Linked DNA regions of Homo sapiens: region 2 is linked to region 1. The links are contacts of gene promoters, found by promoter capture Hi-C in blood cells and fetal thymus (Javierre and others, 2016). All regions are on one chromosome and are shown on one strand. The core of a region is centred on a gene start or on the middle of the fragment in contact, and the rest is flanking DNA. Distances in the headings are between cores, read along the strand shown. Region 1 holds the start of PCDH17 (protocadherin 17). Region 2 overlaps DIAPH3 (diaphanous related formin 3).

What was found. Contacts are between HindIII fragments. The CHiCAGO score rates a contact against its expected background, and 5 or more counts as called.
Region 2: a fragment that was not itself captured here is called in contact with the fragment with the promoter of PCDH17 in region 1 in 1 of 17 cell types (endothelial precursors); the score reaches 7.4 in endothelial precursors.

The regions. Positions count from the first base shown.
Region 1 is chr13:57,629,012-57,635,975 of GRCh38, forward strand. PCDH17 (protocadherin 17) reads left to right here and starts at 2,733. Exons shown (of 4, transcript NM_001040429.3): 1 at 2,733-6,100. The coding sequence starts at 3,536. RefSeq lists enhancers at 696-1,281, 3,240-3,919. The HindIII fragment of the contact is 2,681 bases long and covers 246-2,926 here.
Region 2 is chr13:59,663,357-59,669,924 of GRCh38, forward strand. It overlaps DIAPH3 (diaphanous related formin 3), which reads right to left. Exons shown (of 28, transcript NM_001042517.2): 28 at 2,227-3,490. The coding sequence ends at 3,228. Among named protein-coding and RNA genes, the nearest start is that of DIAPH3-AS1, 350 kb to the right of the region's middle. The HindIII fragment of the contact is 9,199 bases long and covers 1-6,568 here.

The DNA.
Region 1 (6,964 bases), core at 1,483-3,982:
GCGGTTATCAATGGCTATTTGATCTTAAGGAGAAAAAATCAAATTGCAATGTGACACTTTAATAACAAGAATGGAGGTGAACAAAACACCGAAACTAGTGTGTGTGTGTGTGTGTGTGTGTGTGTGTGTGTCGGGGGTTGGGGGGTGGGTATCCACTTTACCTTGAACCTGGGCTGAGATGGTGAGGAAGGATGACCAAAAGGGGTAGAACCTTAAGTAGTATTTAGCCGGATTTGAGTTTACAAAGCTTGTATTGACAGTGAGCCTTTCTCCTTAAAGGAGAGGCTCTATTTCTCTTAAGAGACATAGCCTCTCTTTCAACGGGAGTCTGCTTTTCTTCTGAAACACTTTCATAATTAAGTGACTTTCCTTGCATAGGTGCCTGAGGACAGCTGATTTTTCTCAGAGGATGAAGAAAGTTACATATTGATTGCTGTTGCTCGCGGCATGTTCGTACCAGCGCGGGCAGAAACGGGCTCACGAGCGCCCTCGAATTCACACACACTCACCGAAATACACATCTCAGCCCGTGGAAGCGCATTCACACACACCCACGTACACTCCTCCGCACCTCATTCAGATGGGTCCACGCGGAGTCAGGGCTGCGCTTCCCTTGGCATGGGCGTGTGTGCGGCGAGGGCGTGTGTGCGTGCGTGTGTGAGAGTGTGTGTAGAGAAACCCTTTAGGCAGACCGCAGCTACGTTATTCTGCAAGCATACTGCGATTCCCGATTCCGTGTATGTAGGACCACAAAAAAATTAAATCGCTGTTAAACTTTTTTTTGTAAATTCTCTTTTCCGAAGGAAGGCGCTGGAAGAGCTACTCCCGGTGGTTAAAGGCCCGGGAGACCTGGTGGCGAATCCTGGGGCGCGTCCGCTTTGGCGGAGCGCTGGGCTCCGCTAGCCGGACTGGTTCCCCATCTAACTGATCTAATCAATGACTCCGAAGAGCCGGGGCTCCTGGCCCCGCCCCCGCCATCCTCTTCTCCGCCTCCCATTGGACGCGGGCCGAGAAGGCAGGGCCTTGCTCCTCGCTCGGATTGGCTGACAGGGAATCAGTATCAATGTTTAAGCGGCGGCGTGAGGTGAATAGAGTCAGTCAGCAAGAGACGCTGGGGAGAGAGCAGGGATCGCGAGCCCGGCGGATGCGGCAGCGGCGGAAGGCGGCTGGGGAGACGCTACTCCAACTGTTGAATTGAATTTTCACCTTTCCTTTCATCCGCTGCTTTGCTTGCGGAGATGGATTTATTTGCTTTGAAATCCGCATATCTTTCTCAGACTGTGGGGTGATCCCGGCAGACACCAGACTGAAAGAGACCACCCGTGACAGAAAAGGAGGAATTAAAAAAAAAAAAAACCTCCACAACAGACTGCACAATTAACTGTACACATCGATGTTGGACTTTGTGAATAGAAAAAATTGAGAGGAAAATCTTGAACTATGATGCGAGGCTAAGCTGGGAACAATTACTGGAAACCTGATTTTGTTTTTCCTTTTCCAAGACTCTGAAAAATTTCGGGGTACCTCTCGCCTAACCAAGAGGAAAGGTTTAAAAAAAATAAACAAAATAAATAAACCAATACACCTAGCAAAGCAGACGCCTTGTTTTCCAGAACCTCGGACTCCGGCAGAAAGAGGTAGAGTAAAAGTGCTGCTAGATTCAGCTTCACCTTCTTCCCTCCATCCTTTTCTCTTGCATTTTCTTTTTCCCCAAAAACATGAATCTGGTTTTTCTTTCTATAGACTGAGTCAGAGAAAGCGTTAGGAAGAAGCCGCAACTAATGTCTGTGAAGGGAGGACCATGAGGCGAGAGTGAATACGATTCGTTCCGCTGCTTCTGACTCATCCGGCAGATCGGAACACCTGCATTTCTGGATGTGTCATTCCCGTATGTCGAGGCGCCTCCAGAACCCGAAATAATGTGTAGACAGACCTGTGTCTAACATCCCCTCGGAGGGAGCTCCCCGGGGTAGGAGCCCCTGGCTGGACCGCCGCGGCCGCAGCTCTGCACCCCCTGCCCTCCCTGAGTCGCCCAGAAAAACTGAAAGAGAGACTGCAGAATGCATCACGCCAAACCTTGATGTGTTGCTTTCATCCAGCCCACTCCTCCTACTATAAGAGAAAATTGAAGGAAAAAAAAAAACACGTACTTTATTTGCTTCAAATATTCATCACTTTTATTCCTCGCCAAGGTTTTCTTTTCTAGATGAAGAGGACTGGGAGGCAGGGCTATTGGAAGGAGATGCTGAATAGAAAGAAAAGAGGCACTTGACAGCCCAGCCCTGTGAATGCAGAGACTGTTTCCCTTCTAGCGAGAGACAGGGAGAGTGTGTGTGCAAGGACTGGGAGGGAGGCTCCCCCTTCCTTTTTATTCGGCCTCCCCCCTCCTCCTTTAAATGTGCACGTCCAACCATGAGTTGCCTGTTGATTTCCCTTCGCCTGGGAAGAAAAGCAAACTGGAATTAAACTGCTTGGAGAGAAGTCCTTGCTCGCGGGGAGAGGATGGGATGGTAGCGGAGGCTACTGGCTTGGCGTAGAGAAATCAGAGAGTGTGTTCTACGAACAGAGGCGAAGATTTATCTCTCTACTTCCCCCCTCCCAATAGACTCACACAGCAAATGCTGATCAGGCTGTGGCTTTCTTGATTTCGGGGGAGAGCCTTTTCCGAGGAAGAGAGGGAGGAGCCTGGTGGGGAGAGGAAACTACAAATCGGGACACTAGTTCTTTACGCTGCATTTCCTCCCCTCCCTTTGGCTGCTCGGAAAGGAGAGAGAGGAAAAAAAAAATACGCTTGGCTGGTAGATGCAGTCCGCCGCCGCCGCTGCCTCAGCCAGCAATGCAAGATTAGATCTCTAAATGCAGCAAAACACTGCCTGAAAACAGACCGGCCCGCGCAGCAAGCAGACATTTCACGGTGCGCTGGGGAAGCTTCAAAATATATCTGTGACTCTGTCTTCGTTGCTCTTCATCCCCATCAATTTCATCACGGGAGGCGAGCAGCAAGTAAGAATTTCACTTTCGGATCTGCCTAGAGACACACCTCCCTGCTCCCTCCCCCACTCGATGTGAAGAGTATTCCGGAGTCTCCGGGCGGGAGTAGATTTGCAGCACCCTAGCGGGAGCGAGGAAAACCTACTGATTCTTTAGCTCATTATCATCTCTCCCAGACGAGATTTCCTTCTTATCGCCTGCCTCATCGCTCAAGTTTGAGCCTCCCGAAGTCCGGGCGGGAGAGACGAAACCCCTGGCTCACCCCCAGCCGCAGGAAGCCACCGCCTTGCTCCAAGCCCCTGCAGCTCTGCTGCACCGCAGCTTCTCACCCAGTGCGGATGCTGTAGATCAACAGGTTCAGGGAACTTGAGCAGAATAAGGAGAGACCACCGGGTGCCGCAGCTCGGGTGCAGAGGGAAAAAAGGACCCATAGACTTGTGGCTCGCGTCGCGCGCGCACGCTGCGCCAGGGCCCCAGGCTGGCGCGCACTCCCTCTCTGGCTCCTCCAGTCCGATTGCTCCTGCCCCCACCTTACAGGTCTGGGATGTACCTTTCCATCTGTTGCTGCTTTCTTCTATGGGCCCCTGCCCTCACTCTCAAGAACCTCAACTACTCCGTGCCGGAGGAGCAAGGGGCCGGCACGGTGATCGGGAACATCGGCAGGGATGCTCGACTGCAGCCTGGGCTTCCGCCTGCAGAGCGCGGCGGCGGAGGGCGCAGCAAGTCGGGTAGCTACCGGGTGCTGGAGAACTCCGCACCGCACCTGCTGGACGTGGACGCAGACAGCGGGCTCCTCTACACCAAGCAGCGCATCGACCGCGAGTCCCTGTGCCGCCACAATGCCAAGTGCCAGCTGTCCCTCGAGGTGTTCGCCAACGACAAGGAGATCTGCATGATCAAGGTAGAGATCCAGGACATCAACGACAACGCGCCCTCCTTCTCCTCGGACCAGATCGAAATGGACATCTCGGAGAACGCTGCTCCGGGCACCCGCTTCCCCCTCACCAGCGCACATGACCCCGACGCCGGCGAGAATGGGCTCCGCACCTACCTGCTCACGCGCGACGATCACGGCCTCTTTGGACTGGACGTTAAGTCCCGCGGCGACGGCACCAAGTTCCCAGAACTGGTCATCCAGAAGGCTCTGGACCGCGAGCAACAGAATCACCATACGCTCGTGCTGACTGCCCTGGACGGTGGCGAGCCTCCACGTTCCGCCACCGTACAGATCAACGTGAAGGTGATTGACTCCAACGACAACAGCCCGGTCTTCGAGGCGCCATCCTACTTGGTGGAACTGCCCGAGAACGCTCCGCTGGGTACAGTGGTCATCGATCTGAACGCCACCGACGCCGATGAAGGTCCCAATGGTGAAGTGCTCTACTCTTTCAGCAGCTACGTGCCTGACCGCGTGCGGGAGCTCTTCTCCATCGACCCCAAGACCGGCCTAATCCGTGTGAAGGGCAATCTGGACTATGAGGAAAACGGGATGCTGGAGATTGACGTGCAGGCCCGAGACCTGGGGCCTAACCCTATCCCAGCCCACTGCAAAGTCACGGTCAAGCTCATCGACCGCAACGACAATGCGCCGTCCATCGGTTTCGTCTCCGTGCGCCAGGGGGCGCTGAGCGAGGCCGCCCCTCCCGGCACCGTCATCGCCCTGGTGCGGGTCACTGACCGGGACTCTGGCAAGAACGGACAGCTGCAGTGTCGGGTCCTAGGCGGAGGAGGGACGGGCGGCGGCGGGGGCCTGGGCGGGCCCGGGGGTTCCGTCCCCTTCAAGCTTGAGGAGAACTACGACAACTTCTACACGGTGGTGACTGACCGCCCGCTGGACCGCGAGACACAAGACGAGTACAACGTGACCATCGTGGCGCGGGACGGGGGCTCTCCTCCCCTCAACTCCACCAAGTCGTTCGCGATCAAGATTCTAGACGAGAACGACAACCCGCCTCGGTTCACCAAAGGGCTCTACGTGCTTCAGGTGCACGAGAACAACATCCCGGGAGAGTACCTGGGCTCTGTGCTCGCCCAGGATCCCGACCTGGGCCAGAACGGCACCGTATCCTACTCTATCCTGCCCTCGCACATCGGCGACGTGTCTATCTACACCTATGTGTCTGTGAATCCCACGAACGGGGCCATCTACGCCCTGCGCTCCTTTAACTTCGAGCAGACCAAGGCTTTTGAGTTCAAGGTGCTTGCTAAGGACTCGGGGGCGCCCGCGCACTTGGAGAGCAACGCCACGGTGAGGGTGACAGTGCTAGACGTGAATGACAACGCGCCAGTGATCGTGCTCCCCACGCTGCAGAACGACACCGCGGAGCTGCAGGTGCCGCGCAACGCTGGCCTGGGCTATCTGGTGAGCACTGTGCGCGCCCTAGACAGCGACTTCGGCGAGAGCGGGCGTCTCACCTACGAGATCGTGGACGGCAACGACGACCACCTGTTTGAGATCGACCCGTCCAGCGGCGAGATCCGCACGCTGCACCCTTTCTGGGAGGACGTGACGCCCGTGGTGGAGCTGGTGGTGAAGGTGACCGACCACGGCAAGCCTACCCTGTCCGCAGTGGCCAAGCTCATCATCCGCTCGGTGAGCGGATCCCTTCCCGAGGGGGTACCACGGGTGAATGGCGAGCAGCACCACTGGGACATGTCGCTGCCGCTCATCGTGACTCTGAGCACTATCTCCATCATCCTCCTAGCGGCCATGATCACCATCGCCGTCAAGTGCAAGCGCGAGAACAAGGAGATCCGCACTTACAACTGCCGCATCGCCGAGTACAGCCACCCGCAGCTGGGTGGGGGCAAGGGCAAGAAGAAGAAGATCAACAAAAATGATATCATGCTGGTGCAGAGCGAAGTGGAGGAGAGGAACGCCATGAACGTCATGAACGTGGTGAGCAGCCCCTCCCTGGCCACCTCCCCCATGTACTTCGACTACCAGACCCGCCTGCCCCTCAGCTCGCCCCGGTCGGAGGTGATGTATCTCAAACCGGCCTCCAACAACCTGACTGTCCCTCAGGGGCACGCGGGCTGCCACACCAGCTTCACCGGACAAGGGACTAATGCAAGCGAGACCCCTGCCACTCGGATGTCCATAATTCAGGTAGGAGACTTTTAGCATAACTGGGAGTTCACTTTATTGCTGGTTTTGGAGCTGTCCTGAAACCTTTGGAACAGGGCAAGCCACTCTGCCAGCAGCAGTGAGGGGGAAAAATAATTAAATGAAAACGGTTTACACTTTTGACACTGTGTATACATCATATTCTACATATAACCCCTCCCATGTAAATAGTCTAAACTCTACCAAACGTAAATATCTTACTGTTTCATTTTAAAATTTATTTTTATAGGTTTAAAAATGTTAGCAGTGTTCAATAATAATAGCTTATTTTACTTACTTTTATTTGTTGGTTTACATTTCTTTTCATAAAAAGGAATTCCCAGAGCAGAAAAAAATGTTTTAGTTAATTGTCTTGAAAATATTTTTATTCTGTTTTTTTAAATGATGCCAAAAATGAAAGGAACTTATACCCAACTATTAAGAAGTTAACTTCTTTAAGTACAGAATAACAACCAGTCAGAATTTCAGAGTTCATTCAATTTGAACTAACTTTTCATCCTTAAAAAGTCAGCTTTATATTTTAAAGGTGCTTTAAAGAACATGAATCTCACTTATTCTTCATCATTACATTATGGTAAAACTGCAGCATAATGCATTAATACAGCTTAAGCTTTTCAAATGTGAGTTATACTCTGAAGCACTTTGAAAAGTTTGAATACATGCAGGCTCTGCATAATGACTAGTAACTATCTATGAAAAGTTTGTATTTGTTTTGTCCTGTGGTTACCGTGATCTGTTTCTTGGAGTCACTGAGGAATGAAAGGAATACAGCAGAGGACCAGAGGCTCATTTTGCGCTACTGAAAAAAGGAGGCAAAGTTACACTGAAGGCACTTGATGTGCCAAA
Region 2 (6,568 bases), core at 2,751-5,250, 2.0 Mb after region 1:
AAGGAAAGAGGTTTAATGGACTCACAGTTCCACATGGCCTCACAATCATGGCAGAAGAGCAAGGGATGTCTTACATGGTGGCAGGCAAGAGAGAGCTTGTGCAGGGGAACTCCCCTTTATAAACCATCAGATCTCATGAGACTTATTCACTATCATGAGAACAGCACAAGAAAGACCTCCCACCAGGTCCCTCCCATGACACATGGGAATTATGGGAGCTACAATTCAAGATGAGATTTGGATGGGGACACTGCCAAACCATATCATGGGGTTTGTCACTGGCCTGGATGGAACATCCTTGTCAAGATGCACACACACACACACACACACACACACACACTTAGAGAGACAGACAAAAGAAAGAGAGAGAGGGAGAGTGCACGGTTTATAATGAGGGATTGGACCAGGTGATTTTTTGGAAGCTGAGAAGTCCCACCATCTGCCATCTGCCAGCTGAAGGTGTAATTCCAGTCCAACCTCAAAGGCCTGAGAAGCAGAAAAGCCCGTGATGTAAATCCTAGTCTGAGTTCAAAGGTCCACGAACCGGGAAGGCCGATGAGAAAGGGCAGGAGAGGACGATGTCGCAACTGAAGTAGAGTGTGCAGATTTACACTTTCTCCACTTTCTGTTCTATTCTGGCCCTCAGGAGACTGGATGATGCCCACCTACAGTGGGAGGGCTATCTTCCTTATTCAGTCTATGTATGCAAATGCAAATCTCTTCCAGAAACACCCTCACAGGCACAATAAGAAATAAAACCGTACCGCTTGTCTGGGGCATCCTTTAGCCCAGTCAAGTTGACACATAAAATTAATCATCTGCCGGGCACGGTGGCTCATGCCTGTAATCCCAGCACTTTGGGAGGCCTAGGCGGGCGGATCACGAGGTCAGGAGATCGAGACCATTCTGGCTAACACAGTGAAACCCCGTCTCTACTAAAAATTAGCCAGACGTGGTGGTGGGCGCCTATAGTCCTAGCTACTCGGGAGGCTGAGGCAGGAGAGTGGTGTGAACCTGGGAGGCAGAGCTTGCAGAGAGCAGAGATCGCACCAGTGCACTCCAGCCTGGGCGACAGACTCTGTCTCAAAAAAAAAAAAAAAATTAATCATTATACTGGCTCATTCAAATGAACAAACTGCTTATTCAAAAAAATAAAATTGTACCTCAACTCCTGCCCTCAAATTAAAGGTCAATGCTATGGTTTGGCTAAGGAAATATCATGCATTTTAAAACCCTAATCATACCTCTAGCCCATTGCTGAAAGGGCATCTACCAATAAAAGTATCTCCAAATGATCGTTCCTTGAGTTGGTACTCACCTTTATCAGACATTTAGAGGTTTCCTTTCCACAGCTATGGTCCTTTTTGGAGCCAGCTGCTGTCATCAAGGGAGAGAGAGTGCTGGCTGCTGACCTGTGGGTGGCCAGACGCTTCTGATACTCTGCTAGCCTTGGGCTCCTGGCCCTCTTGCTTGAAAGTTGTCCTCAGCCCCTGCAGACAGACGCTCTGGGGCTTGACTGCTCCATTTCTGGACTTCCTTGCCTTCCTCTGCCCCTCGGAGTCTCCGTCATCTTCACTTTCCTTTATTTGCCGGGCTTCTTCTCCCCCGTGGCTGCTCCCCGGTCCCAAGTTTCCAGAGTTTTTACCTGCTTCCTGGTGTGCCCAAACTATCTAGTTGAATTTAAGTTTTGTTTCTGAAAAACCCAAGTCTGCAAAATCACATTAAGAACTGATAGTGAGAGTTCTTTCATTTAAATTCTTTCCTAAACAAAACAATCCTGCCTTGTTGTTAGGGGTGCCGTCAGCTTAAATATGTAAATGTCCTTCACCTTTCTTGATTTTTAAGGTTTGTTTTCAGAAAAACAGGAATTGCAACTGGATGGCAAAATGCACATTTCAGCAATACATACAAATTCACATTTATTCCTACACTGGCTACAGAGAATACTCTGTTCTCCAATGTCTATAAACAGGGCCTGGCTCATAGTTCTAATTAATTAACTTTATTAACTTAGAGCTGAAAGGAGGTGGCAACTTAAGGAAATAAAAAGCAATAGACCTTGCCCGACTAGTTCCATATAACTGCTTTTTAACTGAAGGTAAAAGAACAGTCACTTACTTATTACATGTAATAAAGCAAAATAGATGCTTAGACAGACTGCATAGCACAGTCTATTCTCAGCTTATCCACAGAATGTTTTCAAAAAAAGAGAGACAAAAGAAAGCATTTTTTTTCATTTAGTGCAAGTAGCAAGTTTATTTCCTTTGATATAGAATTAACAGAGTAATGATGCCCAAATGAGGTAATATTACATTTGCTTAGGAAAACTTTCCTTGAAACACTTATTTAGATCTTTGTTAAAGTTATTGATTGTCAGATCAGAGAAATTGCAATCCCAAGTTTATTCATAAAATAAAAAAAGTTGTTACTTTGGAAATTTCAAAATGGCAATTTTATCTCAGAGTCATAATTACAAGGGGAAAAATACTCTCTTAGCCAAGATCAAGAATTTCGGCAGCACTGCAATTCTGTTTACATCCACGTTACACAAAAGCACATGCATTTGGCAAAGAGAGTGCATACATTCTTATTGCATCATTTTTCGTTATGTGCTCAATTGCCTTATGGTCCCCTAGAGGGTCTACTTAACATGAATTCAACAATGATGATAATGGGGTCACCAGTCATTTCCTTACATATATAGCTCTGATGTATTCAATTACATGTTTTTGATGTTGTGCTGGTAGTATATAGATCCCAATTAAGGAGAAACTTGGGCCTATATAAACAATATATATGGAATATACATGGATATGTAAAGACTTGAGGTTGATGACCTGACATCCATTAATGTTAAAAATAGTAAAGTAAAAATTCCAGTGGCTTAGAAAGATGGTATTTTCTTAAGGACACACTGCTGAACACATGGCCACCTACCTGCTCTCTAAAGCAATATGTATAATTTAACCACCAAATAAAGAACTGAGGAATACCAGGAGACAAAAAAAAAAAAAAAAGGATTAAAGCCCGGTACAATCTTGAATAAACCAAAACCTCCAGTACATAGAAAAAGCATTGCAATCATATATTTAGCTTTATTTTTCTAATATATATCATAATTTAAAACTATATAAAGTCACTTACATAAAAGCAATTTTTTCAAGTGTTATAGTTTAGAGCATGGCTTTATATTTGGCTTAATCATTTTTTTTAAAAACCAGTTTAACTTATAAAGCTCGTAATCTTGCCAGCAGGGCTTCAACTTCGGGAACTGATTCATTTTTAGAAAAAGAGCCAAGAAGTTCCGTTTCCTTTTTTCTGTTGCTTTCTACATTACACGCTTCCTTCTTCTCAGCTGCCTTGATCCTCCCAGTAGACGTATGAGTGTCTAGATTATAATTAAGCTCCTTGGCGACTGGAGTCCTTGTTGAGTTGCAATTGATATTGTAGTGTGAACGTGACCCTTCTGTCAACTGCACTTTCTGATTTTCTACAGTAAGGAAAAAAGAAACATAAAACTTATCACCATGATAACCAAGGACTGTGCACGTTATGAAACACATTTAAAATAATTATTCTCAATAAATAAGTAGTCTTCTTAGATAGACTAAACAAAGAAACAGTCAACAGAGTAAGACAGGTTTAAAATAATCACACAGGGGTTTAAGAATAAACTAAAATATAACAGCCAACCGTTTCATTAGCACTAATGCCCATTTCCTTCTTCCTTTATGCCTGACATGCCTGTCACGTGGTTATTATCAGGGCCTGGTCCCATATTTCTTTCAGGTCTCTGTTCAAACACCACCTAAAAAGAGAGGCCTTCCCTAGCCACCCATCTAAAATAGCATTTGCCCTTTGCACTGCTCTATCCTTCCCCGTCATGTTTTCCTTCACAGGGCACATGATGGCTGGACACACAATATATTTGCTCACTTGTCCATTGTCTGTCTTACTAGAATGTGTGCTCCAAGACAGTAGGGACATTATTTTAAATACTGCTGTAACTTCAGGGCCTAAAATGGCCCTGGTGCAAAGTAGGTCCTCAATAAATATTTGTTGGATAAATAAATAATTTCCACACTCTGTGACACAAGATTAAACATTAGCTTGAATAATAATGAGATTAATTTCCTTTTTGAATGAAATCAAGAAGGAAAGTTTCTAATAAGAATTTAAAAAGTCGATTATTTTCCTTTAAAGAAACAATGAACTTGGCAAGCAAATAATTAAAACTTCCTAGCAAACCAGAATGTTATATGTAATTGTCAAGTATATACACATCTATACATACATGCATGTACATATATACATACACACATACATTCTTTTATTGGTAAGTGATGGTAATGATGACTTTTAAAAAACAGACACCCTCAATATTCATGTAACCTTGAATGGGGCTTGAAAATGGCTTCAACAAACCTGACATGACATTTAAAGTTTTTTGGTTATTCTCTGAGAGATGTTCCATTGTCCCAATAGTAATGACTTTGGAGCACAAGCAGTCACTCATGACAGTGTGTTTTATGTGAGTGCTGAAAATTCCAACTGAAAACAGCTTGTACATTAAAAGGTGGCTGCTGAAGATATTTACTGCACTGTCATTTTCTGACCAGAGGCTTCCAGTGATGGATGAGGATTTTACACACTTTCTTGGACAATCTCAACAAATTTTAGAAGTATGATCACCTTTTAGCTGCTGGAAGAAAATAAATACACTTTGTCTTTCACCTTCTATATCAGGTGGGCAACTGTTACTCAAAAATCAAAATCTAATAGAGCAGTGATTTTCTCTTAAAGGAGTGTATGCTCTGTAGCTTATAATGTACATATTGTGTTTGCCGGAAAGAGCACGGTAGATGTGGTATTCCTGCAGTTCCTATGACCACATCCTTTTCTTTTCTAGCTCCCACACCTCTGTCCCAAAGAATGCTTGAAAACTGCATTTGCAGCTAAATGTAGAATGTTGGCCAGCTTACTGCTCCTTCCCCAAAATGTTCCTATCTTTGCTTATTTGATTTCCTGCAAACCACTACATCATGATGGTATCTCCAACAAACCAGTTTATTCTGCTATTGGACAACTCTAGTTAAAAGTCTAATGGCAAAGAAGAGATTAAATTAGCCAAAATATGGGTATAGAATATGAAATGTGTGTGTGCGTGTGTGCGCGTGTCCATGTATGCACTCCAAGAAAGTAGGGACATTGTTTTAAATATTGCTATAGCTTTAGTGCCTAGACCGTCCTTGGTGCAAAGTAGGTGCTCAATAAATATGTGTTGGGTAAAGAAATTATTTCCATACTCTGTGACACAAGATAAACTTTAGTTTGAATACTAATGACATTAATTTCTTTCTTGAACGAAACCAAGAAGGAAAGTTTCTAATCAGAATTTTTAGTCAGTGGTTTTCCTTCAGAGAAATAATGAACTTGGTAGGCAAATTATTAAAACTATATATATACACATATATATATATGTATGTATACACACACACACACACACACACAAAACACATACATACATACCATCTTATGAATAGCCTGTATTTTGTTGCACTTCAAACATTACCACCCTCAGCATATAGATTGAGGGGTAAAAGCAAAAGGAGGTTAAGTCATTTGCTTAGACTTAGTTACTGAGTAAATCGGTGGTAGACGCCAAATGCTGTCTCTAGAGATACTGAGGCTGTCTTCAAGAAATCTGAAAACCCTTTTGCCAAAGGAAAGTGCTAAGTAATTCAAAGCTAAGTTTCATAATAATGGTGTCCTGCACTTATACTTCAAAATGCCTTCTAACACACTGAATTCTCGCAACAGCTTTGTAAAGCAGATAGTACACCTATGTAAACTACCTTAACACAGTATATCCAAGGTCACACATATCCTCCATTTCTTTCCTGGTCTCACTTAGATTCATGACTATGAACTTCAAAAGCATGACCTTTAACCCACTACAATTCCCTAGTCCATTCACTCTTCCATTCTCCCAGACAACTGCTCCACACCTTCTCCACTCTTTGAAACTTCCAATATGTCCTCCCTCTCATTTAACTCACTCATAGAGGTGATCAGAAGAGAGCTCCTGCACGTGCCTCACCCCTTCCCCAACACCTATTATCTGCCTACTGCACACACATACATCCGCCCCTCCTGTTAGGATGAATCAACCTTCCGAGCTCCCCTCTGAGGACAGCCCTCAAGGTGAGTGACGGATGTGACTTTTGCTTGGATGTGACTTTTGCTTGTCTATTCAAGGACATCCCTCTGGCTGCTTTGCCCTCTCTCTGCTGCATTGTAAAGGTTTCTTTCTCCAGGTGCTCATTCCCCTCAGCAGAGAGGCTCTAATAATCATAAATTTATGAGGTGGGGGGAATCTCTGTTTGTCTCCACATCCTGCTCCAGCTATCTAAATTCTTGGCTCCCTTTATAGTAAAATACCTTGAAAGAATTGCCCATACTTACTCTCTTAATTCCTCGCTCCCTATTTTTCTCTTGAACCCACTCCAATCATGCTTTTGACCCTTTACTCTTCTGAAACAGTTCTTGTCAAGGTCGCTAATGAACA